Linked DNA regions of Homo sapiens: regions 1, 2 and 3 are each linked to region 4. The links are contacts of gene promoters, found by promoter capture Hi-C in blood cells and fetal thymus (Javierre and others, 2016). All regions are on one chromosome and are shown on one strand. The core of a region is centred on a gene start or on the middle of the fragment in contact, and the rest is flanking DNA. Distances in the headings are between cores, read along the strand shown. Region 1 has its middle 20 kb from the start of DDX18. Region 2 has its middle 39 kb from the start of DDX18. Region 3 holds the start of LOC124907878 (a long non-coding RNA gene). Region 4 holds the start of DPP10-AS1 (DPP10 antisense RNA 1).

Region 1 (3,357 bases), core at 671-3,170, 2.6 Mb after region 4:
TGGGGTGACAGAGAACTTTTTCTGCAACAAGTCACATATGAGAAAAAAAACCATATAATTTATATGTATATAATTACATGTATCATAATTATATAATATAGTGATATTAACATATTACATATTGTGATATATAATGAGAAAGACCTTATAATCTTCCTCATTATAAGTGAAATACAGCTAACTCTCTCCCCTCAACACACTTCTTACTATATTGGAGGAGATATTTATCAAACCACATAATTATGCCCCAACTTATTGAAAATGTTGGCATTAGGTAACAGGTCCAAGAGCAAACAGACGAGATTGAAGAAGTAGGATACAGACATCCTTATAAAATTAAAAATAGGCAGATAATAAGTTATTTAAATGAAAAGCAAGACAATTAATGTGTCTGAGAAAGACAAAAATCTACATGTCTCTGTAAGGATAATATTTGCGTGGATACAATGAAGAGGGCATGAATAATTAATAATTAAAAATAGTAACATAACTCTATCAAGAAGGATTAAGATGAAGACTTATTAAAGGGACGAAAAGTGTCCTATAATTATATAAAGTCAAAAAAATCTAGATATTTAAGATACAGCAATAAATGAACTACTTAGAAATATGATATTTACTTAGAATTTAAAAGAAAGAGCAGAAAGTTAAAGCAAGTTTCCACTGTGATGAAGACTGGAGTGAGAGATTTATTTTTTCCCTTGTAAATGTCACAGTACTTTTTATTTTTATTTTTACAAGTATTATCTTGATAACTTTTTTTTTGTTTTTGAGATAGGGTCTCACTCTGTCACCCAGGTTGGAGTGCAGTGTGTGATCATAGCTCATTGCAGCCTCAACATCCTGGGCTCAAGCAATCCTCCCGCCTCAGCCTCCCAAGTAGCTGAGATTACAGTCGCTCACCACAACACCAGGCTAATTTTTTTTTTTTTTTTTTTTTTTTTTTTTTGGTAGAGACAGGGATTTGCCATGTTGCCCAGACTTGTCTCGAATTCTGGACTCAAGAGATCTGCCTACCTCGGCCTCCTAAAACGCTGAGATTACAGGCATGAGCCATTGAACCTGACCTCTTGATAACTTTTTAATATTTACATTTCTAAGGAGATCTCTAATCAAGCACTATGAGCCACGTGAACTTTTAAATCACGTATTTATTCAATTCTGAGCCCTGTTAAAAGTATATGATTTGCTGGGCGTGGTGGCTCACGCCTGTAACCCCAGCACTTTGGGAGGCAGAGGCGGGTGCATCACCTGAGGTCAGGAGTTTGAGATGAGCCTGGCCAACATCGTGAAACCCCATCTCTACTAAAAATACAAACGTTAGCCAGGCGTGGTGGCAGGTGCCTGTAATCCCAGCTACTTGGGAGGCTGAGGCAGGAGAATCACTTGAACCCGGGAGACAGAGGTTGCACTGAGCCGAGATCATGCCATTGCACTCTAGCCTGGCAACAGAGCGAGACTCTGCCTAAAAAAAACAAACAAATAAACAAGCAAAAACAAATTATATGATTTAATATATTGTTCTAGTCACAAAAATCCAAATTCTCAAGACTGCACATACTGTACAGAACTTGAGCGATGATGGATGTATTTTCTCAGACTTTTGTTTAGGAGCAGACTGTGGACTAGAAATTTTAAACCCAGAGCCATAATGACTTAATGGCAAACTACATATTTCTAGGTGACTTCTTGGCCATAAGTTACTTTAGGTACTGAAAAGGGTGAGCTAGGTCTGCAGGTTTAGTCCATAGTTCTGTGTGTATTTGAGAGAGAGAAAGGGAGAGAATCCCTTACCATGATTCCTTAAAACATTTCTTTTTGGTAGCTGAATAGGTATAAATAATTGAGGTGCACATTGTTGATGGAAAAGAGATTGTAATCCTTTTTTTGAGAACCTTCATATTAAAAAAAAAAACAGAACAGCTTATCATAGAAAAGTCCTCTACCCTAGGGAAAATTATGATTTTAAAGATTATGAACCTGTCAGTCTATAAGTTATGAGCTAGAGGCAGCATCTGAAGTCTTGATTAATCTGCTCATTATTCAGTTGACCCTACTTGCTAGCCTTGAAAAATCAGTAGTGCTAATGTTACTTCAAGTAGAAAAACATGGGAGTCACTTCTCAACTGCAAGAGTCTGTGAAGTTTTCTTAATGGTGAAATCTGTACAGAAGTGATCTACTAAAATGGGTCCTTGGTACTTTATGGCTTAAAGTCTGTGCTTCCAAAAGGCTCTATTCTTCTCCCGCCCCTTGGAGAATTTCAAGCCAAGGTTTCTGAGCTGTACTGTGTGACTCACATGTCTGTATGAAAGGAGGCATGCCTATAGCCAAGAATCTAAGCAGGACTGAGAGCATTTTCATTCATTCATTCATTTTCTATTGAATCTCAACCATGTGTCAGCCACCATACTGCATGCTAGAAAAACAAAACAAATATAATAAGATATGTTCCCTGTGGCACCACGAGCCCAGAACCCACAAAGCACATCTTTGACGAGCTCTCCAGCTACTTTCAGCCTGCTTAAGGCTTTCTTTACAAACACAAAACAGCAAACCAGAGAAACACCTTAATGATACCTGCCAATGTTTATTGAGCTATTTTCTGTATACTAGGATTGTTCTAAGCACATGACACATATTGACTCATTTCACTTTCTCAGTGATCCAATGAGGTAGTTACTAACATCATCCCCATTTTATAGATAAGAAAATGAAGCACGAAAATTTAAGTAACTTGTCCCAAGTTTTTATAGCCTGGCTCCAGGTCTTGCAGGTATAATTATTCCTTTCACACAGGTGTAAGGCAAACCAAATGAAAAGGGAAAAAAGAATAAAGAGGCATTCTTCTTTCATAGTCACAGAGGTAAGTGACTATGTGAGTGAGTTTAACCCAAGATAAAGGGAATCAATAATGGCCAGTTACCTGGACATGCTGTCAGCTAATACCACCACATGCATAGTTTAGGCCTTCCTTTGCCTCCACCTTTATCCTTACTCTAGGAAGTCTTATGCATACGAATTCACAGACAGCTATTTGCAAAAAACAAGCCTATGGGAATGAAGCACTAAATATAATACTTTTTAATATTAGGTTGAGCTGAGAAGACAACAAAAATAGAAAATAACTAATGATGTACACTTTTTAGTACCATTTGCTCCATTTCAATGCCTTATCTAAGGAACCTAGAGGGAGATGAACCACTACAGGGGTTAGAGGGCCCAAAATGTGTAGATAATATTGATGCTATAGACTCACAGGTAACCTCTACAGCATGGGACAATGAGGCATGTACATGACAGGAAGACACATTGAGAATGCAAATGTGGGGACGTGGGGGTCAATTAGAAGATGCAGG
Region 2 (3,091 bases), core at 535-3,034, 2.6 Mb after region 4:
GACTTTCTCCACCACATTTGACTGACGTGGACCAGTGAGGTGGTGGGAAGGCTTTGTCCTAGTTGTGGTTGGCTGGAAACTACCTGAAGGAAGAGGAATGGGTCTGAGGGGTCCCGACGGGGAGGAGAAGTGGGAACAGTCACCATGGTCACTTTCCCTCTCTGCCCCAGGTACACTTGATCTCAACATGCCCTTCTCTCCTGGGGAGACTGTGTCAATTTGATCAGCAGGCCAAAGAAGAGGCTGATAGTTTCTATCACTTGGTGTGCCAGCAGCTGCCAACAGCAGAGTCCCCAGAGTGTAGGTGTTGACCAGCCAGACCCCAGGCAGCAGTGAGGCATGGTTCACAGTGCTAGCCCAGTCCACTGGTGCACTCCATAATTGACTGTTGCTCATAGTTTGCTGACCTCTGATGTAGAATAAGGGGAACTCTTTTAAACTGTAGGTAGGAGTAAAGTTAGTATACTGCTTTGGAAAACCACTGGTATTGTCTCCTAAAATACAAGCACAAAGCATACTCTGCAATTCCTAAGTGTACATCCAACAAAAATGCATGCACATGTGCATGCAGAGACATGTACGAAAATGTTTATAAGAGCATTAGTCATAAAAGCCAAAATGTGAAATCAATTATCAAATGTCCACCAGCATTAGAACTGGAAAATAAATGTTGAACTGTTCACATAACACAATTCTTTACAGCAATGAAAATGAAAAAAAAAGTTGCCACTTCATGTGACAGAAATGAATCTGATGAAGAGAATGTTGAGAAAAAAATACATTCCATATGACTTCATTAATGTATGTGTGTAAGGTATGTATGTTTAGCTGATAAAACTACAAAGAAAAGCAAAGAATATATTACCATGAAAGATAGTATAGGAGCAAGAGAGTAGTGATGGTGCTTGGAAGGGAAGATGAGGATGCTTCTGCAATGTTGATAATATTGTATTTCCAGTCCTAGATGGTAGAAACAGTAGGGTTTGCATTGTCATAAATCAGGGATTGGCAAACAATATGGCCCAAACCTAATCTCCCACCGATTATTGTGAACAAAACTTTATTAAACCACAGCCCATGTTAGTTTACACATTGTCTGTATCTGTCTTTTTATTAACAATAGGAGACTTGAATAGTCCTAACAGACACCATATAGCCCATGAATTCTAATATATTTACCATCCAGCCTTATACACAAAAATATGCCAACTCCTGTAACAAATCATTGAGCTGTACATTTCTATTTTGTATACTTTTCCTTATACATGTCATATTTTACAATTTTAACTATACATATTTAGTTATGTAGTTATAGATGTAACTACATTCCATGTTTAGCTCTGAATCATGTTTGACAATAGACATTCAATGCATAAAACAACAATCAAATCAATTAGCTTCAAGAAAACAAAACCACTTTTCTTTAAATATATTCATTATGCAGACAAAATAAACTGTACTTGCCTCTAGAACTTATTTTATTCTCAATTTCCATATCTGCAAGAGAATGAATCATCATCTTTCATTCCAAATACTTGTTTGATGTATTGCTTAAAGCTGTTTTATAGATTGCAGCATGACACTTGAAGGCACTTGATACAAGTGTCTGGCCACATGTTGTCAAGTCTCTATTTGAGTTTTTCTTAGAAGATTGAACTCACATATCTATACACTCAACAAAGGCACTATATTCAGTCATACTTTATTTATTCAGTGATGTGGAGCAAGGCAACTTTTGAACAGTTTGAGTTTCTCTCTCTGCATTTCATAATTCATCCATTTAACAAAGATTTACTTACAGTCTACTATGCCAAAACTTATATTTTCAGCATTTTAATGCAAGTGTTTCTGAAATATGTTACATCGTCCTCTGCCTTTTACACAGAGTTTGACCATTTAATCTTTTATGACTCAGCCTCATTACAGAATCAAACTATACACCAAAATGCGATTTTTAAAATTCTGTTTTAACTGAGAAGTCTTTTCTAGAATTCCAACCAACAAAATAGATACAAAGAAGAGTTGAAGAGAGAGATGGGTGTGCAACAGAGTCCCACCCACTAGGAATTCCTGAGACGACATAGAACCATAAGATTCCAGGAATAGCCATTGGAAACCACTGATCATTTAGTAACACTCTCAAGAACTGCTGAGAGATAAAGGCTGCTCCCGTACTCAACAATCCTAAATTTTGTTCTGAAATTGCTGTCTTTTTTTTTAAGTGTGTTTTATAGTGTCCTTCTTAATGTCAACAATCGCTTCTTGCTGAATCAGTGTAGATCCCTGTATCTGTGCTCTGTCCACCCACTAACCCTCAACATCCGTGGTTTCTGTAGATTGGGAAAATAAAGTCCCCAGGCTTTCTAGAAGTGTGGGAAAATTAAAAGTCCACACACTAACAGGCCTCGAGAGACTTTCTCAAGTAAAGGACATGGGCTTTACATTCTGGACCTTGAATGATCTCTCTTGATGGTCAAACACCTATTTTTCTGTCTAATTTCCAGATTACCAACAGGATATTAGAAGCTAGGTGACACTTATATAAGTAAGGACATTTTCTATCATCAAGACGAAAATGGATTTGCATTGCAGATGGTGATTTTAATTTCTCAAGTGAGAAAACGTTTCTAGAATCTCTTAGTCGTATCTACTAGTAACTTGTTGCTATTATTATCATTATTATGATTTAGAGACAGAATCTCACTGTCTCCAGGATGGAGTGCAGTGACGCAATCACAGTTCACTGCAGCTTCGCACTCAACTTTAAGTGATCCTCCTGCCACAGACTCGCAAGTAGCTGGAACTACAAGCATGGGCCACCATACCTGGAAAAATCTTTGCTCTTCACCCAACAGTCTTAGAGTTTGTCAAATAAAAGAAGTTCTCTCTAGAAACAGACTGTTAAAGCCGGGCGAGATGGCTCCAGTCTGTAATCCCAGCACTTTGGAAGGCCAAGGGGGGTGGATTATCTGAGGTCAGGAGCTCGACACCAGCCTTGCCAACATGGTGAAACCCTGTCTCTACTAAATATACAAAAATTAGCCAGGCGTGGTGGTGGGTGCCTGTAATCCCAGCTACTGGGGAGGCTGAG
Region 3 (3,168 bases), core at 371-2,870, 2.6 Mb after region 4:
TGCCTAGAAGCATAACATTAAGCATGCTGCTGCCTTGTAATACTTCTCAAAAACACAATTTAGCGGAAAAAAATTATTTTCAAAGGTGCATGAAATCTATCCTTTTCATCCTCCCATTTAGATACTCTAAAGTTCACTCCTGAATTAAGCTAGACCTACAGAAATTCGTGAAGTAAAACAGTCTTTTGACCTTTTCTCTCTTCTTCACTCTTCCTGTTGAAAGATTTTCACTGGCATGGGCTATGATGTGATGTTATCAGCCTGCATTGGGAAACACAAAAGAAACACCAATGTAACCCCAGGTGTCTGCAATGAGAAGGTTGAAGGTGCTGTTACTTTACACAGTGGGCTCATTCATGAGAGTCCCGAAAAGAATGTTGTTCCTGCCACAGTATCAAAATGAATTGTGCATCTCCTTAAAATGGGCTTGTTTTTAATCTCATGAACCCTAAATAGTACAACCAAACAAATGTCTCTTTTCATTTAGTTTCTAGAATACTTACAGAACAATTTGAGGCCCACCTGTTAAAAAGAATGACAGGCTGTATGCATGGTCTGCATTGCTGTTTTGGCTTCATTCCTGGCTATTAAAAAAATAGCTCCACCAGGCCAGGCACAGTGGCACATGCCTGTAATCCCAGCACTTTGGAAGGCCAAGGCAGGGTAGATCACCTGAGGTCAAGAGTTGGAGACCAGCTTGGCCAATATGGTGAAACCCCATCTCTACTAAAAAAAAAATAAGAATACAAAAAGTAGCCGGGCATGGTGGCAGGCACCTGTAATCCCAGCTACTCAGGAGTCTGAGGCAGAAGAATCTCTTGAACCCAGGAGGCAGAAGTTGCAGTGAGCCGAGATTGCGCCACTGCACTCCAGCCTGGGTGACAGAGCGAGACTCTGTCTCAAAAAAAAAAAAAAAAAAAAAAGAGAAAGAAAGAAAGAAAAAAAAGGCTGGGTGTGGTGGCTCACGCTTGTAATCCCAGCACTTTGGGAGGCCAAGGCAGGTGGATCACCTGAGGTCAGGAGTTCAAGACCAGCCTGGCCAAAATGGTGAAACCCTGTCTCTACTAAAAATACAAAAATTAGCTGGGCATGGTGGGAGGCACCTGTAATCCCAGCTACTTGGGAGGCTGAGGCAGGAGAATCGCTTGAACCCAGGAGACAGAGGTTGAAGTGGGCCAAGATCATGCCATTGCACTCGAGCCTGGGTGACAAGAGTGAAACTCCATCTCAAAAAAAAAAAAAAAAAAAACTCCACCAGTAATTTTTCTTCTTGTTTCCCACCTACTTCTATTTATGTTGATTTGAAAAACTGAATGCATCCTTAGAAGTGCTTTAAAGCTTTTCTGAACAAGGGAGGGCACAAACTTTTTTAGGCAAATTAATATGAAAGTCAATCTTACCAAACTTTCAAAGGCATTTTTTGGTTCTCCTCTCCAAAACCTTAGTGAGTAATGCCAATAATATGTTCTGAGAATTTTCCCCCCAAATAGCAAGTAACAAATACTTCATCCCACAGTGGCTCAAAGATCTATGGGCGAGGCTTGTTGAACAACCATGCAGGACAGCTACTGGCAGGAAGAAACGTGGTGCCTGCTTATTGGCCTAGAACTGGAAGGATGCGCACCAAAGGCAAATATTGTGTATTTAACACTTTTACCAAAGACAAGCCCCAGCACAGTAATGAGTGTGAAAGGTGTGAAAAACTTCAAAAGTTTGACCACAGAAATGTTGGTGGCACAGAATGTCTTACCAGGCCCAGGCTAACTGCATGGGACACCCTTTACAATCCTGCAATTTGGAACAACTCTTTAGTCAACAACCTTGAGCCACCAGCTAGCTTGATTGGATCATGCACTTATCACCAGTACGGATTGGGAAGCCTTGAGTTTACCCAGAATGAAGAAAGCTTAAGGTTGAAAATGGAAGCTAAGAGTTGATTTCACATCAGCTGCTATAAAGACAAGCACAGCCTGTAAATTTTTTAAAGGCTAAAACTTTAAATTCTCTAGGCTGAATATTGGAGGGAGGGAGAGGATATGCAACAGATGTAATTCAATTCTTGTGTTATGTGTTACTAAAATGACATTGCCTGGTATTAAAAAGTTCTTATAAAATAAAAACTAAAAAAATCCTCACAAACAGCATTGGAAATAAAATCCAAGTCTTGAAAAATTCAAATTGCACCTTCCATCCCAACCTCATTCCAAATCAAAATATGTATCTCTTTTATTCATAAACTGATACATATACCTATGAATAAAAGCCCAAAGCTGGGCATATTGAAATGAGTTATCTAGCCTCCGAAAGCAAATAAGATCATTTCCTTTCACATCTCTTCCCTCTCAGCAATTATCTGGCTGAATTTTAACCTGACTCTGATCAGGAAGGGAACATCTATTTGCCCTGGCTGAATACTGCAGCAATCCATATGCATGTTTTCTTGCTGTCTAAAATCCTATCTCTGAATACGATTTCTTATTAATTTCCTCAAGCAGATTTCCACTATTAGATGTGCTGGCTGTGCATCACAAATGAGCTACGTTTTAGCGGTTGCTGGTCATTACGTAAGTAAAGAGGGGAACATCTCCTTCTGTGTGACTCAATGATTTAATAATTATTAATGAGACATTATGCCTTTGTACATTTCTGACAGATTATTAAGTGCACTATAAATGTTTAACATCACTCTCTGAGGTCCGAAAATGTGATGCCAAATGTGTCCTCCAGCTTCACACAATCAGAAAAGACAAATTAGATTACAGCAATATGGCAGCTTTATTGATTTTTTATAATATTTACAAACTGCAGGTAAAATGTAATATGAGAAAAAGCATGTGTGATGATGGCAGGTCCATTTACCTGAAAGTTTTTCCTCTATCATCATTTGGAAGCAGTTCATCTTGTAGGCAGTGGTGTTGGAACAACTCTTTAGTCCACTTCTTGGGCTGTGTTTCCTTCCAGCAAGCTCCAGAGGGCAGGAGGAGCCTCGTTCACAGCCTCAGACTTATGCTCCATTTTTTTTTTAATCCTTGGACACAGGAACTTTGGCCCAGAGGCTTGTTTGCATGTCAGAATCACCTAGAAAAAAAATATAAAATACAGTCTCTCAGGCTGCCCTCTAGCCCAACCAAACCAGAATCTCTCGAGGTGGTCACAAGGCACTGGTAT
Region 4 (3,362 bases), core at 595-3,094:
TTGAAAATGAAGTAGAACATCTTACACTGTAATTCAAGTGCAATACATTAAAAAAATAAAAACAGTGTTTAAATTGGGAAAATCCGTTTACATGTGATTAAGTTTTAATCAGTGCCCTTAACCCAGATCTCAACAGCTAAAAATGTTCTTAGCTTGACAAAATAACAACCCATCCCCAAGGACAAATACTTAAATCAAAGAAGCATTTTATAAATAAAAAAATTCACGCACACATACACACACAGACCCCCACAATACATGAAACATATAATAATGTTTGTCTTTATTTGTAATGAAGTGGATTTTATACTGAATTCAGAACACAGATGCAAATTCAACAGTTGAACTCAATCAAATAAGTAATCTTATATAAAAGGATATCTCCCTCCAGCATGTACTTATCCTGTGTGACAGATATCTCTGTAATAAAGTAAATTCCTTCAACTCAAGCAGATTGTCCGAAATGGAAACACAATGAAAGGATGAATATACTCAAATAATCAACAGAAGAGCAAAATATAAAAATGCGAACATTTTCTGAATAATGCAGATGCCCTCCCTCCAAAAGAATTACATGTGAGGGAATATCTATATTGTCATAATTACTGGATAAGCTGCCCAATAGCTATTACACTAATGTTTCATTAAAAATATATATTTGCTTTATGCTTTTGCAACTTGCAAAGTTATTCCTAGCAAAAAGTTATTTCTCCTGAAACAGAATAAATAGGTCTTTCACAATATGCACTGGAATACATATTTTTGAAAAACAAGATCTCCACTCACCTCTAATTCTATCTTTCTGCTGGTGATTACTGATATATTTATTTTAAAATACATACTTTATAGGAAGTATCGTTACAATTAATATTTAGGACAACATTATAATTCGTGTTTTAGAAACTACTAAGGCAAGAGGACAGCTCCTACCATTCTACAAAAGTCTTTCAGTTAAGAAGTGACTAATTAATGGACTGAGTGGCTCAGAGCAGGGAGCCAGTCCTTAGCCAATAAAGCCCAACTCACTGCCACCCCACTGCCCCATATTCTCTGTCCTCTCTGCTGGAACTGTCTTGTGCTGAATACATGAACACCTAAATATTCAACTCACTCCTGCCATTTCTCCGGTAAGCAATCTTCCACAACCTGTGCCTGAGACTTGGAGGCTGTTTGTGGTCCACAGGCTTTAGGCGCCCTAGGGAAAGCCACGTGCACTAGTGCATCTGGATGAACTGTGGACTTTGTCTATCCGCGGTAATTCAACTTCCTAAGAGCTACATTGACTCATTGATTTGTATCCAGGCTCCGGGCTCCCAATTCCCACACAACGTAAGCTCCCTGCAGCCAGGGGATTTGGTAGGTTTGCCGTGTTGTTTAGTTTCTCTCCCCTGCGACCCTCTCTCTGAGCCTCACAGTGTGTTTGGCACGTGGTAGGTGCTCGGTAAACCTACTTTGAATGGGAGAGGGTTGTGTTGAAGAAAGGAAAGGCTGGGAGGACTTAAGATTTGAAGGTTTTCCTACACGTGTCCAGGAAGAAAGAAAAAGAAAAAAGAAATGAGTATCAGAGTCTTATCATCATTACAGTTCTTATGGTTTTTAACCGACCTTTAGGAGTTCCACCGACGTGACCCAAGCAGCTGGTAGGAGAATCTGGGCTGGATTCGGAAGGCGCAGCTACAGGACGCCCGCTGCCCCGGATCGGAAGGCGCAGCACCTCAGGCCACAATCTCAGACACGCCCTCGGGTCCCGACAGGTGTTGCCCGCCTCCCACGGGGCTCCGGGACCCCGGTCCCCGGGCTGCCCCCTGCCTTCTGGGGCGCTGGAGCGCGCGCAGTGGCGGAGCTGGAGCCACCCAGTGCTTCGCACGGGCGCGCTCCGCTTCTCCGGGTTTTAGCGGAAGCCTGCGGGGGGCGGGGTAACCGCGGAAGCCGGCGGCCGTGGGCGCGCGGGTTGGGGGCTCTCGCGCCGCTCCGGGCTCTCCCCCCCCCCGGCTGCGGTTGCCGAAGAGAGGCCGGAGCGCGGCGCCCGGCTGCTCCACCTGGCGCGCTGAGCACCGCGCGGGGAGCCCCCGGGGGCGGGCGGTGGGGGGCGCGGACTGCGGGAAGAAGGCACGAGGCGTCGCCGCAGCTCGGTCAGGGGCCGGGGCCCCGCCGCTCGCCGCTGCACTAACTTGCCGCTTGGTCTCGCCTCGCCGCCGCGGCTCGCTGCGCTTTGGGTGGCGGGGGGCGGGGAGAGCGGGGAGTCAGAGGGTCTGCGGTGGCCGAGGGAGGGACCCTACGACGGGGAGCCCGCCCGGTGCCGCTCTTCTTCCCCTCCCCGCCCCTCCGCTCCCCCCACCCCGTCCCTTCCGCCGATTCCGGGAGCGACGGGCGCCCGTGACCTGCGAACGCTGCCAAGTGACGGTCCCCGAGTCTGAAGCGCCCGCGAGGAAGCGAGCGCCAGCGCGGGCCGCCGGCGATGACGGCCGCGAAGCAGGAGCCGCAGCCCACCCCGGGGGCCAGGGCGAGCCAGGCGCAGCCGGCGGACCAGGTGAGAGTCGGCAGCCGCGGCCAGGCCCTCCCGGGAGGGGTGGCTCCAGTGCGCGCTCCGCCCGCCTCCCGCTTCCCAGGCTGGGCTCCCGCGCCTCCCTCTTCTCACCCTCCCCCGCCCCGCCCCAGTTCCAGGCTCTCCTGCTTCTCCACGGACTCTGCGGGAAGTTAGAGCCTCTGCGTGCGCTCCGGGGCCCGGCGAGAGGATGCGCAAGGTGGAGAGCCGCGGGGAAGGGGGCAGAGAGGTAAAGGCTGAAGGTGCCCCGGGGAACCCCGGCGGGCGGCCCACCGAGGGAGGGAGAGGCGGCCGGGACCAAGGAATGGGGCCTCTTGGTTCCCCATTAACGCACGCTGAAGAAATCTGCTGCGCTCCTGACGGCCGCTCACCGGGTTCGAGCCCCGTCCTCCTATAGCCGGGGCGCTCGCTGGCCAAAGCGACCCGAGCAGGCGAATGACCTTTAGGCGGACGGGGTTTTCCCTCTGCTTTCTTGTTTCTTTTGAGGAGACGGGTGTGTGTTTGTGAGGTGGGGATGGGGGAAGAGTGTCCCAGACATCCGTAGTCTGCTGAGCGGAACGGAGCTTGGGGAGCGGCGAGGCATTAACGATTAAGTGGAGCCGGGAAGGCGCTGGCTTTGGTGATGTGTTGGGTTTGGATGTGTCGCGTCTGCACAGATGAGGTGCCCTGCGTGGGCTGAGGGTTATTCCTGTCTCTTTCCCGTCCGTCTACACCCGCCAACCCCTTTTTGTTTTGGTCTTTAGAAATCTGTAGCATAACCGTACCGTCGTGGATCCCCATCTCGTCTCTGTCCCTGATCTGGGGTGATTTGGGACTT

The links. Contacts are between HindIII fragments. The CHiCAGO score rates a contact against its expected background, and 5 or more counts as called.
Region 1: a fragment that was not itself captured here is called in contact with the fragment with the promoter of DPP10-AS1 in region 4 in 1 of 17 cell types (endothelial precursors); the score reaches 5.4 in endothelial precursors.
Region 2: a fragment that was not itself captured here is called in contact with the fragment with the promoter of DPP10-AS1 in region 4 in 3 of 17 cell types (M2 macrophages, endothelial precursors and M0 macrophages); the score reaches 9.4 in M2 macrophages.
Region 3: a contact is called between a fragment that was not itself captured here and the fragment with the promoter of DPP10-AS1 in region 4, in 2 of 17 cell types (endothelial precursors and M0 macrophages). The highest score is 11.9, in endothelial precursors.

The regions. Positions count from the first base shown.
Region 1 is chr2:117,792,598-117,795,954 of GRCh38, forward strand. No RefSeq gene overlaps it. Among named protein-coding and RNA genes, the nearest start is that of DDX18, 20 kb to the right of the region's middle. The HindIII fragment of the contact is 7,003 bases long and covers 1-3,357 here.
Region 2 is chr2:117,774,361-117,777,451 of GRCh38, forward strand. No RefSeq gene overlaps it. Among named protein-coding and RNA genes, the nearest start is that of DDX18, 39 kb to the right of the region's middle. The HindIII fragment of the contact is 7,818 bases long and covers 1-3,091 here.
Region 3 is chr2:117,757,514-117,760,681 of GRCh38, forward strand. LOC124907878 (a long non-coding RNA gene) reads right to left here and starts at 3,080. Exons shown (of 2, transcript XR_007087210.1): 1 at 2,860-3,080; 2 at 1-261. The HindIII fragment of the contact is 568 bases long and covers 1,337-1,904 here.
Region 4 is chr2:115,159,499-115,162,860 of GRCh38, forward strand. DPP10-AS1 (DPP10 antisense RNA 1) reads right to left here and starts at 1,845. Exons shown (of 3, transcript NR_036580.1): 1 at 1,606-1,845. All of the region lies in intron 1 of DPP10 (dipeptidyl peptidase like 10), which reads left to right. The HindIII fragment of the contact is 8,601 bases long and covers 1-3,362 here.